Linked DNA regions of Homo sapiens: region 2 is linked to region 1. The links are contacts of gene promoters, found by promoter capture Hi-C in human tissues and cell types (Jung and others, 2019). All regions are on one chromosome and are shown on one strand. The core of a region is centred on a gene start or on the middle of the fragment in contact, and the rest is flanking DNA. Distances in the headings are between cores, read along the strand shown.

Region 1 (7,691 bases), core at 3,874-6,373:
CCCTGTCTGATAGGCAGCTAGGCCAGCACTACTAGCGCCGGGCAACTTCCTCTACCAGCCCAGGGCAACTTCCCCTACCAGTCCATGGCAACTTTGTGACAGCTGCCAGGCTGGAGGGACCTTTTTCTTGACAGCCTTAAAGATTTCCTGCATCCTTCCTTGGAGCCAATGAAGACAGGGGAAACGGTTGAACCGGTTAAGCCTGGGGATGGGATGGCCAGCGCTGCCTATGCCTGGAGCCTGGACCCTAGTTATCTGGGGCAGAGATAGGAGAGGGAAGGGGAAGCCCAGAACAGAGAAAGGCTTCAGCGAACACAGTGTGGTCTCCAGAGGCAGAAAGATCAGCCACAACACGGGCCTCTTGGAGTCACTGACCTAAAGTAGAGAGCAAGCTGAGAGAGATCACCCACAGGAACTCCTGCATGTAAAGGTGGAGGAGCTGAGGCCCAGAGAGGGCAGCGGTTGGCCAGAGGTCACACAGCACCTAGTGGCAGAGCTGGACCTAAAGTCCAGGTCTCCTGGATGCCAACTCAGGGAACTCTCCACTGTTGAGTTCAGATAAACTCAGTGGGAAACTCCAGGGAAAAGCCCCCAGCTTGCAAAGTCAGAACAAGATATTTTAGTGGCCCTGGGTGGTGACAGAGTAGAGATGTTTGTTTTGGTTTCCAAATCAACGCTTGACAACCTCGTCCTCATTGCGGCTTCAGCGACCACATTTCCCACGTGGTAAAGACCTGGTTGGGCCAAGGGAAAACCAAAGCAGTGGTGACTGGGGCCAGGACCCAGGCACCCCAGGCCAGGGGCTCTGGTTTGGGTTGGTGTTTCCAAAGCACAGTTTGTGGACCACTGATGGCACATGAGATGATGCTCGGTGGTATACAGTTGACGTTTTAAATTTAAAATACATTGAATACCTGGGTGGATTCATAAACACAATATGGTCTATACTACAGAGGAATATTTTTAGCTATAAAAAGGAACAGCCTACAAATACATGCTACAACATGGATGAACTTCAAAAAAAATTCTCTAAGTGAAAAAAGCCAAACACAAAAGACTGCAGAGTGTATGTTTCTATTTCTATGAAATGTCCGGAAAAGGCTAGTTTCTAGAGACAGAGCAGGTCAGTGATTACCTGGGCTGGGCTTGGAATTGGAATTTTCTGTAAATGGACATGAAGGATCTTTTTGGGGGCTGATGCAATGCCCTAAAACGGGATTGTGGTAATGACTGCACAACTCTGTGAATTTACTCATCTTGACTTGTACACTTAAAATGGGCAGTTTTTGTGATATGCAAGTTGTACCTCAATGAAGTTGTTAAAATATTTTATGTACGTAATAGCACAGGCGGTAGTACATGGATGTGGCCAGAAATCATGGAGGTGGAACTCAACAAGCGTCCGGCTTGAAGATCGCTGAGCCTCGCAGCCTAAGTTGTCCTTTGGGGAAGCAAGTGGGGGTCTCTGGAGCTGCAGCTTCCTCCAGGTGGACCAGGGGAAACCCTGGAACCTTTCCCTTCTGGGTTAGGCTCCTTCTGGGCATCATTGCTTGGAGTTCTGTAATAGATATCCTGGGATGATTTAAAGCCCTTCATGGCCACAACAGTCCAGGCAGACACCTGGGTCTCATCCCTTAGACGGTGACTTCTCTTATGGCCAGGGGATCAGAAGCGGGCTGGGAGCTCAAACTCAGATTTATATATTGCCAAGGCTGGGAAGACCCTTTGAGATCATCTAGCCCAGTGGTTTTTCAACTTTTTAAAAAATGTTTATCAAATGTCTGCCCTCCTCCCCAAAGAAAATTCTTAGGGATACCCAAAACATACTACTAACAAGTTAGCATGTTAGTAGAACCCAGTGAGTTAATATTAAGAACTTAAAGGTGGGTGAGCACATTTTTATCACTGTATTAACGTCTTAATGTTCTTTTAAATGATCATTTTTATTAGATATTCAAGGAAACCCTAAAGCATCTCTAAGAAAGCCTGGGGTTTCAAGGACCGCAATTCTAGCCCCCCCTCAACCTCACTTCACAGACGGGGAAACTGAGGCCCCAGGAAAGGAATATACCTGCTTTGGAAAAATCCAACATGAGTCTTGAGTTAACTTCAGAAAATAAATGGAAGACAAGGTGTGCACGCATCCCAGAAGGGCGGGAAGAGAGACGCCCGCACTCCACCTGTCTCAGCAGCACCGTCTCATTCCAGGCCAGCGCCAGAAGCTGACATCACACCCCACGCCCTGGGTGCAACTTGAATAGATCGTTGCTCAATGCCAACCCATCTCCCTCCAAGACTGGGCACGGTTTTTCCATCACCTTAGTAGCCAGGTCCAAAAAGCACACACACAATAAAACAAACACAACACAAGCCTGAGGCATGACAACACAATCAACAGTGGCAGACAGGAGGGCCCGGCCCATCCCTCCCCAGTTTCACCATTGAGAGCAAGTGCCTGCTTCCCTAGCCTGCCCCAATGACATTGACCATGAGGGGCGGCGAGGTGGCCTCCCTGTGGCAAGGCACCAGGCGGGCCATTCTCAAGTCCTCCAGAGAAACAGGTAACCCAGGAGAGAAGCCCGTCTCCCAGTGGAGTGTAAGACCTACCCCCAGGAAGCTAGGCGCCACATGAGAGAGCTTGAGGACTCTCAGCATTTCTACTCCCTGCTAGCTTGACAAAGTGCCTATCATCTTTAATAACACCAGCATGATTACTTTATACCTCCCAAAGAGCATCACCATCCTGCTGTCTCCTCGAGCAACTGTGGGCAGATTTTATTATTCCCATTTCTCTGATGAGCAAACAGGCTTTCAAGTGATTTGATAATCTCACCAGCAGGTATAAGGCTGGCATTTGAATCCTACCCAGTTGCTAGCCTGTCCAATGGGAGAATACGGAAGGAGACCTATGCCCAGCTCCCTGGACAGACCTTTAGAGATGGAAGGAAGGGTCCTTCTCAGTACATCCTCCAAGCCCTGGAGTTCAGAGCCAATAGCTCCGAATGGAAGGCTGCCTGTGCCTGGAACAGCGATTGCCAGGGCCAGAGGGCCCCTTCCCCAGCCAGGCCTGAGATGCCAAAGACAGACCCTTCTTCTCTTATGGGAAGAGGAGGAGGATAGGAGACCCCTCTCCTCTTATCGGAAAGCCAAGCAGACAGTATTGTCGGCCAGACTGCAGACAGGAAGCAATGACAGTTTCCCAGCTGGGGAATCTGGGCTAGGCAGGAATGCACTGGCCAGTCTTGCAGAGTCTGGACCCCAGTTCTAGCCAGAGATTGTGGTCTCAGTCCATTCAATGTCCAGTCTCCAGCCCAACATTATCTTCTCCTGGGGGCTTTTAAGGCTGAGTTTGTTAGGGCTCAATAAACCATGAGACTCAGGGAGTGGGGAGAAGAGGGATGAAAGGAGGCATTTTATAAAAGCTTGTGAGCAGTCTGTTGTAGTTGTGGTTATCCAACCCAGCAAGCTGGACCTTACAGAGCTGGAGCAAGACGGCAGACACTGGCCCCAGGGGGTAGGGGCAGATCCATCCATTTTCAAAAACGTGATCTCATTTAATTCAAGAAATAAAAAGGCAGTGGGTTGGTTAGAGTTTTTCTTTTCATATGTTGAGGGAGGGGAGCATATTTCCTACTTCCTTGGTAAAAATACTTATGCTAGGAGACAGACTAGCCAGGAGTGGTTAAAATCTCTGGTTGAAATCCCGGTTTCACCACTTACTCGCCAAGCCACCTTAGGCAAATCACTTAGCATTTCTGCACCTCGGTTTCCTCATCTGCGAGATGAGGATAAGACTGCCTTACACAATACGCTGTATTGTGCTGAGAATTAAATGAGATCGCATAAAACACAGACAGTTATTATGTCACCTAGAAAACAATGTGCCTCACCAGTGACAGCATCGAGGTGGCCCCCACGGTAGCCAGCGCCCGCCCCCATCCTGGGATCTAGATAACTGGGCCTTCCTGGCGTACGTAAGACGCTCTGCAAACACAGCTTCCAGCCCACCTGCCAGTACCAGCTGCCCGCCCGGCCCCCGTCCCGCATACGCATTCCGCGGCAGCCTGGACCTGGGCGCCCCGTCCCAGGGCGGCGGGGGAGGGGCGGCCACTCACCTCCGCTTATACTCGTCGCGCTCGCGCTTCACCTTGGCCAGCACGTTGTAGAGCGCGCGGATCTCCGGCGTGATGGTGTCGATCTGCACGCCCACGCCGTCGGGGTGCACCCACGACACGCCGGGGCCCTGCACGGTCTCCACGCCGCCGCCGCCCGTGCGCCGCACCTGCGTGTAGCTCCAGATGGTCCCGGGCAGGCGGCCGTAGTGCTGCGGGTGCGAGCCGCCGCCGGGGGGCAGGCCGCCCAGGGCCACGGCATTGGCGTTGGCGCCGGCCGCCGCGCCACTGCTGAGGCCGTGCCCGCCGCCGGGCGCCGGGGGCCGCAGCAACTCGGGCCCGGTCTGCACGGCCTGCTCGCGGGAGAAGGTCTTGTAGCGCAGCCGCCGCTCGCGCTCGCTCTGCTGCTGCTCCAGCTGCTTCTCCAGCAGCCGGTTGCGCCGCTCCAGCTCGTGCACCTTAGCCAGGAAGCAGCGGAAGCGCACGTTGAGCCCCTTCAAGAGGTGGATGTTGGAGCCCAGGTCGTCCCGCAGCGCCGCCGTCACCGGCGACGGACCCGGCCCTGCCCCGCCGCCGCCGCCGCCCCCGCCAGGGCAGCCCCCGCCGCCGCCGCCCGGCGGGCAGCCGAAGGCCAAGGCCATCTCCCCGAACAGCAGCGAGTTCACCATGCGCCGGCTGCGCGGCTCAGGGCCCCGGGCCCGCGGCTCCAGGTGCGGCTCCAGCTCCGGGCAGGGCTCCCGGCGCGGCCGGGCCAGGGTGGGCGCGGGCTCCAGCGCGGCCGGCCGGGCGGTTCCAGATGCGCGCCAGATGCGGCCTCCGCAGAGACGGCAGGACGGATGGCCCCGGATGCGGGCGCCGAGGCGAGAGAGGGCACTCGGCCGCTCCTCGGGACGCGGTGGAGGCCGCGGTATCTGCGCGGGGCCAGAAGGGTCGCGGGTCTCACCGCCCGGGCTGTCAGAGACGCTGTGGAGGGGCCGCGGCAGCCGCACGCAGAGGACTCTCGGCCGGCACTGCCCCTTCTGCGGCGGGCCCCGCCCACTGCAGACACTGGCCCCGCCCCCGCCGCGGCCCCGCCCACCCCTCCTCCCTCTGCGGCGTTCCCCGAGCCCGAGGCTCCGCCCCACGAGGCCCGCAGCGCCGGGCCCCACCCACAGACCCTCGGCTCCGCCCACCTCCGGGTTCTCCCGCTTTCTCCGCAGCATAGACTCCGCCCAGCTCCCCGGCGGGGCCACGCCCTCTCCTGCGTCTGGTCCTGCCTCCCCGCCGGGTGCCGATTCTCTGCTGGGGGACCCGGACCGCAGAGCTGCACCAGGGACCGGGTTAGCTGGAACCGCCGCAGAGCCAGCCGGGCCTCTTAAAGGGGCCAGCAGCCTCGGCAACGCTCGCTTTCCACTTTTTAGGGCGCTCCTCTCCCACGTCGCCTGCCGAGAGGGCTCCGTTTCTCTGTCCTCTCTGCCCGCAATGCCCCTGGCCCCAAATTCCTTCGGATGTGCGCGACCGCGGCTGGAAGGGCTGGGGGACCACAGTATCCGAAGGTGCATCGGCACCCCACCCCCACTCTAGCCTGGGGAGGCCCAGATCGACCTTTCGGGGATAAGAGGGCGCCCGTGCCCCACGCTGCGGACCCGGGGGTGGGCTCCTCGAATGCTAGCTGCGGGCCTTGTCCTCTCGAGATCGGCCCGGGCACAGCTAAGCCCGCTGGTTCCCCCGCCCACTGAGGAGCCGAGCAGCATGGGGGTTGGGGAGGCCGAGCAAGACCCTCCCGGGATGACACCCACAAACTCGGCCTGGGCCTCGCCTCTGCTGAGCTGCTCAGCACCTCCCCACCACCCACACCCACACGCTGAGATGAAGCTGACCCCGAGAGCTGGGGATTCATTTCACAGACATGGGGCTTAGCGGGCCGCCTGGGGCAGACCGAGGCAACCCGAGGACCCATTCATTCATTCATTCATTCATTCAAATGTTTTCACACCTACCACGTTAAAGGCCAAGTTCTCCAGTCTCTGGTGTCTCCTGAACCGTGTTGCAAACATTAGTATATGTCAGGCGCCATACTTATTTATTATCCCCATTTTACAGAGAAGGTCACTGAGACGTTAAGTAGCCACAATGGTCCAAAGTGCATGCTCTAACCGGCCTTCCACAATGCTGGCCTCGGGCCTCGTGTCCATTTCCGCATTTGGTCCTCACCGCAAACCTCAGAGGGGAGGTGACCCCCACCTTGAACCCCCACCTTTGAACGCCTGTGGCTTGCATTGTATGCACTTAACCAGATATGTGGCATGTTTCAGATACTTCCGACTGCATTTTTTACTAGCAGTTTAATTTTTGTCTTGTTATTAACTTTTGTGTTTGTTTTGTCTCTTTGTATGTAAGCTTGAGGACAGGCACACTGTCTTACATGGACAATGCCTTGGTGTTCTTGGTGACAAAGGAGACACGGGCTTGCCCTGGAGTGATGTGGCTGTGATGTTAGTCTGCTGTGTTTTTGATTTAGCCACAAAAGCAAACCTTCCCCATAGTTCCTTCCCTCAACCACAGTTCCTTGCTTCCTGCCAACACGGACTCACCTTAAACACCCAGCTCTGAAACTCACTCATCTAGAAACCTTTCTCTGCTTAACCCAACCCAGTCTGGACACTGCCCTTTACTCTTCGTTCTCTCGTCTCTTGATGATGTTCTTGTTTATCTAACCTAAGGAATCAAAACCCCTTTGCCTTGAAGCAGAGGTTCATGGACCCCCAAGAGGACTGAGGATAGAATTCTGGGGGGTCCATGACACAGGGGTGGACAAAAGTTATACCTTTAGCCTCACTAATCTCTAAAGGCTTTGTTGTCTGTTTGTTTATTTGTTTGTTTGAAACAGAGTTTCACTCTTGTTGCCCAGGCTAGAGTGCAATGGTGCGATCTTGGCTCATCACAACCTCCACCTCCGGGGTTCAAGAGATTATCCTGCCTCAGCCTCCCAAGTAGCTGGGATTACAGGCATGCGCCACCACACCCGGCTAATTTTTTTGTATTCTTAGTAGAGATGGGGGTTTCTCTATGTTGGTCAGGCTGGTCTTGAACCCCCAACCTCAGGTGATCCGCCCACCTTGACCTCCCGAAGTTCTGGGATTACAGACGTAAGCCACCGTGCCCAGCCAATGGTTTTTAACATATCCTTTGATTATGAATGTAGGCAGCAAGTAGATGTCCCTGTGATTTTGTCACTAGTAGAAATCACAGGTATTTATGTAACACACTACAGTTATTGTAAACATCTCAAGATATCATCTAAGCTACGAGAACTGTGAAATTAAAGTCATATTAGACCGACCACTAAATCTTATTTAATGTATTAGTAAAAGAGAACGTATGTTACTATATGAGAAATTGTTAATAGTTTGATATCTATTTTTAGTAAAATGACTTTTCATAGTAATCCTAATGCCTTTTTAAAAAAATTATTCTCAGAAGGGGTCCACAGGCTCCACCCAATGCCTGAGTGGTCCCATGGAAGAGAAAGGGTTAAGAAGTCACACCTGGGGAGTGGCTCCCTGCAACCTCTTCCAGGAAGGATCTGTCCTTCCAACA
Region 2 (7,691 bases), core at 1,420-3,919, 320 kb after region 1:
GACTCCGTCTCAAAAAAAAGAAAAGAAAAAAATAAACAAATAAATTTGAAAGGATTTAAATAATACAAAGTACATCTCTGAACACAATGGAATTAAACTAGAAAATAATAACAGAACTTAGAGCCTGAGAGGGAACTGAAAATAAGTAAATAGGTAAATAAATAAATAGAAGAAAAAGGAAAAATAGAAAATAATAACGGAGTGATGTCTGGAAAATCCCCACGTATTTGGAAATTAAATAACCCATGGATCAAAGATGTAATCTCAAGGAAAATTAGATCATAATTTGAACTGAATTAAAGTAAAAACATGACATGTCAAATTTTCTGAGATGCAGCCACAGTAGTGCTAAGAGGGAAATTTATAGCACCACTTTGACATACTATAAAAGAAGAAATATCTCAAATCAATAATGTAAGCATTTACTTTTTTTTTTTGAGACAAAGTCTCGCTCTGTTGTACAGGCTGGAGTGCAGTGGTGCGATCTCGGCTCACTGCAATCTCGGTGTCCCAGGTTCAAGCAATTCTCGTGCCTCAGCTCTCGAATAGCTGGAATTACAGGCATGTGCCACCACACCTGGCTAATATTTGTATTTTTAGTAGAGACAGCGTCTCGCCATGTTGGCCAGGCTGGTCTCGAACTCCTGGCCTCAAGGGATCCTCCCACCTCAGCCTCCCAAAGTGCTGGGATTACAGGCATGAGCCACTGCACCTAGGTGGGTCTTTTCTTTAATTAAGTTGTAAGAGTCCTGTATCTATTGCAGCTACAAGTTTCTTTACAGATATGTGATTTGCAAAATACTATCCCATTCTGTGGCTTGTCTTTTCACTTTCTTGATAGTTCTCTGAAGCACGAACATTCTAAACTTTGATGGTGTTGATTTTACTTTTTCTTTTGCCACGTGTGCTTTTGGTGTCAATATCTAAGAAACCACTGCCTAATCCAAAGTCATACTTACTCCAGTATTTTCTTCTAAGAGTTTTACAGTTTTACCTTATACATTTAGGTGGGTGATTCATTTGAGTTAGTTTTTTTGTGTGTGGTATGGGGAAGGGGTCTCAAACTCCTGGGTTCAAGAGATTCCCCTTGCCTGGGCCTCCCAAAGTTCTGGCATTTCAGGCATGAATGAACCACCATGACCGGCCTGTTTTGTTTTTTAAAAACAACTGTATTGGCCAGGCGCAGTGGCTCACACCTGTAATCCCAGCACTTTGGGAGGCCAAGGGCAGACAGATCATGAGGTCAGGGGATTGAGACCATCTGGCTAACATGATGAAACCGCATCTCTACTAAAAAATACATAAAAAATTAGCCAGATGTGGTGGCACACGCCTGTAGTCCCACCTACTTGGGAGGCTGAGGCAAGATAATTGGTTGAACCCAGGAGGCGGAGGTTGCAATGAGCCAAGATCGCGCCACTGCACTCCAGCCTGGGCCACAGAGTGAGACTCCATCTCAAAAAAGAAAAAAACAACAAAAACAAAAACAAAAACAAAAAAACTACTGTATTGAGACATAATTCAGACACTATACAGTTGACTTAAAGTGATGATTTAATGCTGTTTCATGTATTCAGAGGTGTACAACCATCACAATCAATTTCAGAGCATCCTCATAAGTGCACCCAAAAGAAACCCTGTACTTATTAGCAGTGAATCTCTATTTCCTCGCAAACCTCCTCCCGGTCCTAGGCAAGCACTCATCTACTTTCTCTCTCTCAAACAGATTTGCCTATTCTGGACATTTCATACAGATCAAATCATGCAATATGAAACCTTTTGCAATTGGCGTCTTTAATTTTACAAGTCTTCAAGGTGCATTTACCTTGTAGGTGTTTCATTACTTCATTTTATTTACTTATTTATGTATTTAGAAACATGGTTTGCTCTGTCACCCAGGCTGCAGTGCAGTGATGCATAATCATAGCTCACTCCAGCCTTGAATACCTGGGCTCAAGCAATCCTCCCACCTCGGCTTCCTGAGTAGCTGGGACTACAGGTGTGTGCCACAGAACCCAGCTAATTTTCTTTTTATGTTTACTAGAGACAAGGTCTCACTTCTATGTCCAGACTGGTCTGGAACTCCTGTCTTCAATTAATCCTCCTGCCTTGGCCTCCCAAAGTACTGAGATTACAGGCGTGAGCTACTTTTTTATTATTTTTTTTAACAGCCGAATAATAGTCTGTTGTATGAATATACCACATTTTGTTTATCCTTTCATTCATTGATGGACATTTGGGTTGTTTTTACTTATTGGCTATTATGAGTAATGATATTGTGAAAACTCATGCCCAAGTTTTTTGTGGGGAGATATGTTTTCACTTCTCTTGGCTATATACCCACAAGTGGAACTGCTGAATCCTATGGTAATTTTATGTTTAATCCTCTGAGGAACTGCCAAACTATTTTCCAAAGTGGTTGTACCATTTTACATTCCCACCATCAGCATATGAAGATTCCAGTTTCTCTACGGCACTTCTATCGTCTGTCTGTCTTACTACTCCCATCCTAGTGGGTGTGAAGTAGTGGAAACACATTGTGGTTTTTATTTTTATTTCCCTCATGGGTAATGATGTTGAGCGCTTTCTCATCTGTCTACTGACCATCTGTATATCTTTGCTAGAGAAAGTTCTATTTGGATCCTTTGTTCATTTTTCAATTGCATTATTGATATTGTTATTGTTGAATGATAAGAGTTCTTTATATAATTCAAGCTTGTCCAACCCACGACCCGCAGGCCGCATGCAGCCCAAAGATGGCTTTGAATGTGTGGCCCGACACAAATTCATAAACTTTCCCAAAACATTATGAGATTTTCTTGTGATTTTTTTTTTTAAGTTCATCAGCCATCGTTAGTGTGAGTGTATTTTATGTGCGGCCCAAGACAATTCTTCTTCTTCCAGTGTGGCCCAGGGAAACCAAAAGATTGGACACCCCTGGTCTAGACAGAACATCATCGGGTAAATGATTTGCAAGTATTTTCTCCCATTCTGTGGGTTGTCATTTCACTTTCTTTATGGAGTCTTTAAAGTAAAAGAGTTCTAAACTTTGATGATGTCCAATTTAATTTTTCTTTTGTTGTTTGTGCTTCTGAGGAACAATTCCCCAATCCAAGGCCACAAGACTTATCTCTATATTTTCTTTTTCTTTCTTTGAGACAGACAGAGTCTTGCTCTGTCACCCGGGCTGGAGTGGAGTGGCACAATTTTGGCTCGCTGCAACCTCTGCCTCCTGGGTTCAAGTGATTCCGGTGCCTCAGCCACCACAGTAGGTGGGATTACAGGAGTGTGCCACCATCCTGGCCCTGTATTTTCTTCTAAAAGTTTTTATACTTTTAGCCTATACATTTAGGTCTATGACTCACTTTGTGTTTATTTTCTTATGTATGGTATGAGGAAGGGGTCCAACTTCATTCTCTTACTTGCAAATATCCAGATGTTGTTGAAGATGGTTCTTTTCGTTTCTTTTCTTTTCTTTTCTTTTTTGAGACAGAGTCTTGCTCTGTCGCCCAGGCTGGAGTGCAGTGGCGTGATCTTGGCTCACTGCAAGCTCCACCTCCTGGGTTCACACCATTCTCCCGCCTCAGCCTCCCGAGTAGCTGGGACTACAGGCACCCGCCACCACGCCCAGCTAATTTTTTGTATTTTCAGTAGAGACGGGGTTTCACTGTGTTAGCCAGGATGGTCGCGATCTCCTGACCTCATGATCCGCCTGCCTCGGCCTCCCAAAGTGCTGGGATTACAGGTATGAGCCACCGCGCCCGGCCTAAAGATGGTTATTTTCCTTGTTGAATTGTCTTGACGCTCTTTAAAATTAATTGACAATACCATGAAAGGGTTTACTGCTGGACTCTAAATTCTAGTCCATTGATTTATGTCTAGCCTTATGCTAGGACCACACTGTCTTTAGCATTGTAGTTGTTTTTTCTGTTTGTTTTTTGTTTTGTTTTGTTCGGAGAATGGAATCTCACTCTGTCACCCAGGCTGGAGTGCAGTGGCCTGATCTCGGCTCACTGCAACCTTCATCTCCCAGATTCAAGCAATTCTCCCTGCCTCAGCCTCCCGAGTAGCTGGGATTACAGGCGCCTACCACCACGCCCGGCTATGTAGTTTTGTAGTAAGTTCTGAAATCAGAAAGTGGGAGTCCTCCAACTGTGTTCTTTTTCAAGCATGTTTTGGGTATCCTGGGTGCCCTGAATTTGCTATGAATTTTAGAACCAGTTTTCCAACTTCTGTGTTCTCAAAAAAAAGCTGGCTGGGTGTGGTGGCTCATGCCTGTAATCCCAGCATTCGAGGCACCAAGTGGGGCACATCAACTGAGGTCAGGAGTTCAAGACCAGCCTGGACAACATGGCAAAACCCAGTCTCTACAAAAATACAAAAATTAACCAGGTGGGTGGCTCACACCTGTAATCCCAGCTACTCAGGAAGCTGTGGCAGGAGAATCACTTGAACCCAGGAGGTGGAGGTTGCAGTGAGCCGAGATTGCACCACTGCACTCTAGCCTGGGAGGCAGAGCGAGACTCTATATCAAAAAATTAAAAAAATAAAAATAAATAAAAAAGCCAGTTGGGATTTGGACAAAGATTATGTTGAATTTTCTTATCATCTTGGGGATTTTGTCATTTTAAGCAATTGAATTTTGCCCAAGGCCCTGGAAGCCCACCCCTTGCACCAGTGTGCCCAGGATGTGGGATATGGAGTCAAAGATTATTTTGGAGCTTTACATTTTCACGCCTGCCCTACTGGGTTTCAGACTTGCGTGGGCCTGTTGCCCCTTTCTTTTGGCTGATTCCCCTTTTGCAATGGGAATCTTACCCAGTACGGGTACCACCACTGTATCGTGGAAGCAAATGACTTGTTTGATTATACAGGTTCATAGGTGGATGAAACTTGCCTTGAGTCCCAGATGAGACTTTGGCCTTATGATTGAGTTGATGCTGAAACAAGTTAAGACTTTGGGTGACTATTGGGAAGGGATGACTGTACTTTGCAATGTGAGAAGAACATGACATTTGCGGGGGGGTGGTACTGGTACAATGATATCATCAGGGTATTTTGTCCCCTCCAAATCTCATGTTGCAATGTGATCCCCAATGTTAGAGGTGAGCCTGGTGGGAGGGGTTAGGGTATGGGGGCAAATCCCACATGAATGGCTTGGTGCCATCTGTATAGTAATGAGTGAGTTCCAGCTCTATGAGTTCACACAGGATCTGGTTGTTTAAAAGAGCCTGGAATTTCCTCCCCTGTCTGTCTCTTGCTCCCTCTCTCACCATGTGACACGCTGGCGCCGCTTCCCCCTCTGCCATGACTGTAAGCTTCCTGAGGCCCTCACCAAGAGCAGATGCCGGCACCACACCCCCTTGTACAGACTGCAGAGTGGTGAGCCAAATAAACCTCTTTTCTTTATAAATGACCCAGTCTCAGGTATTCTTTTATAGCAACGCAAACAGACTAACACACAGCACCCTGGGAGTTTTATTCTTCATTTGGTGGTGACTCTTCTATTAGGTTTTTGTCCAAATACTTCCATCCCTAAGAATTTACTGAGGCAGTTCTAAATTAAAGAAAATGTGAGTAACAAAAGATGTTACAGAAGAGCCTTGGGCAGCCTGAGAAACGATGGGCCTAGCGGAAGTAGTTGGGACATTCGTGAGTAACCAAATGCCAGGCTTGATTAAAGGCGTCCACGACAGCCGGCTCCAGGGGCCCTTCCTCTGCCGCTGCCAAGTTCTGCTCCAGCTGCTCCAGGCTGGACATGCCCAGGATGACCGCGTCCCCGTGGGCACCCTGCAAGGGAGACGGCCAGACTTCAACCCTCTTCTGCTGCACAGCGACTCTACTCACAGCCGTCCCAGCCACCTCCCTGCTGAGATTTGGGATCTCTTGTATCCCATATGTCCAGAAAGAACTTAAGGTGCCTTGGATAGCTGTACCCATGTGACGCAAAACCTGTATCCCTTCCCCTACTGCCACACGACGCTTCCAGACAGACCTACATTCACAGCCCAGTTCTGCCCCCCAGCAGCTGTGTAAACGCGGCTAAGTTATTAAACCTCTCTGAGATTCAATCCTCTTTTCTATTTTCAACATGGTTATGGGTGTGAAAAATTATGTAGAGCACTTAGCTCCCATTTATTGAGCACCTACTGTATATATGCCAGACACTATTGCAACATCTAAGGCTGGAGTTGGATATAAGTGAGGAAGACATGAGGCACTGAGAGAGGGAAACTCCAGCTCCCACCAAAAGGATGAGACTAGTGGGCTTTACAGTTAAACCTGTGTTAAAATGTCTGCCCCTTTCATAGCTGGGTGAAACTCAGTTTCCTCGTCAATAACACTGGGATAGTCATTTCATAAAGCTGAAGGAATAATGAAATCCCTGCAATGAAGCTCTCATTACAAAGCCTGGCACTCAGATACCATCAAAGACCAATGAGAAGGCCGAGCGCAGGGGCTCACGCCTATAATCCCAGCACTTTCAGAGGCTGAGGAGGGCGAATTGTCTGAGTTCAGGAATTTGAGACCAGCCTGGGCAACATGGTGAAACCCTGTCTCTACTACAAATACAAACAATTAGCTGGGCATGGTGGCGCACGCCTGTAATCCCAGCTACTGGGGAGGCTGAGACAAGAGAGTTGCTTCGGCCCAAGAGGCAGAAGTTGCAGTGACCCGAGATCATGCCACTGCACTCCAGCCTGGGTGACAGAGTGAGACTCTGTCCCCCCAAAAAAAAAACATAGAAAAAGACCAGTGGGAAGAATGTTTGTGAGAGTTGAAAGAAAGAGAAATTTCAGAGGAATCGATAAACAAATGTTTCAGCCTTCATCTAAAGATATTGCTGGTTCCCCTGGAAGGGAAGAAGCTGAGCGCACAGGGTCACTGGTTACCTGCAGCTGTGAGTGGTGGTACATCCACCGGAGGGTGGCCGAGGTCATGCTGGGGGCGCTGGCGCCATACGCGGCCTGCAGGGCCTTCTCCACCAGGGCAATGCCCTCAAAGTGGTGCTCCTTCCAGTAGCTGGGAAGGGGGGACGGTGGCACAGGTGTCAGGGCCACATTGGGAGCCACAACCAAAGAGCCAACCAGGGCCACTGTCCCACCCCACACCCTGCAGCCCTGAGGGGCAGGTGTTCTCTCTAGCCATGGGTCTCCCACTTTGCTGGGCAAGAGAACCACTCAGGATGCTGGGCCCCTCAGCAGAGACCTCAACAAATCTTTATTCCTGAGGACTCATCAGCCTGCTCTTATTTTCCTTAGGGACACAAAGGCCGCTAAGATGGGTCAGGACTCAGCCCCAGGCCTCCTGGACCTCCCTCCAGAGCTCCTTCTTTCCTTCCTAGCAGGTGATTGCTCAGGAAAGAGCAACGACTTCAAGACCCCGAGGTCCAGGGAGTCTCCTTTCCTCCTGGAGGTCCCAAGACAACAAGAAAACCGATGGAGGGTTTGGAAATTCCCGAAGAAATTCAGGGGAGTAGGTGCAGCAGCGAGGAAAGGCCTTACCCCAGGAGCAGCCCAGGACTTCATTCCACATAAAGCTGACCCCACCCCAGCCATCCACACCAAGCACCCACAGCTTACCGATTCCTGTACATCTCTGCCCAGGTATTCCCAAAGAAGCGGCCCACGGGCTGTTTCCCATTCTTGTCCTCATACTTGTACTTGCCGGTCAGCAGGCCCCCTGAGGGA

Evidence for each region. Contacts are between HindIII fragments. The study calls those that stand out against the background at their distance.
Region 2: a fragment that was not itself captured here is called in contact with the fragment with the promoter of IFFO2 in region 1 in 1 of the 25 tissues and cell types used here (bladder).

Annotation. Positions count from the first base shown.
Region 1 is chr1:18,951,553-18,959,243 of GRCh38, forward strand. IFFO2 (intermediate filament family orphan 2) reads right to left here and starts at 5,124. Exons shown (of 9, transcript NM_001136265.2): 1 at 4,116-5,124. The coding sequence starts at 4,780. RefSeq lists enhancers at 1-59, 90-229, 430-479, 500-829 and silencers at 3,877-4,066, 4,307-4,566, 5,137-5,306. The HindIII fragment of the contact is 10,098 bases long and covers 1-7,691 here.
Region 2 is chr1:19,277,103-19,284,793 of GRCh38, forward strand. AKR7A3 (aldo-keto reductase family 7 member A3) reads right to left here. Exons shown (of 7, transcript NM_012067.3): 5 at 7,584-7,683; 6 at 6,894-7,023; 7 at 5,471-5,790. The coding sequence ends at 5,629. Among named protein-coding and RNA genes, the nearest start is that of AKR7A3, 7.8 kb to the right of the region's middle. RefSeq lists an enhancer at 6,525-7,400. The HindIII fragment of the contact is 8,144 bases long and covers 1-6,741 here.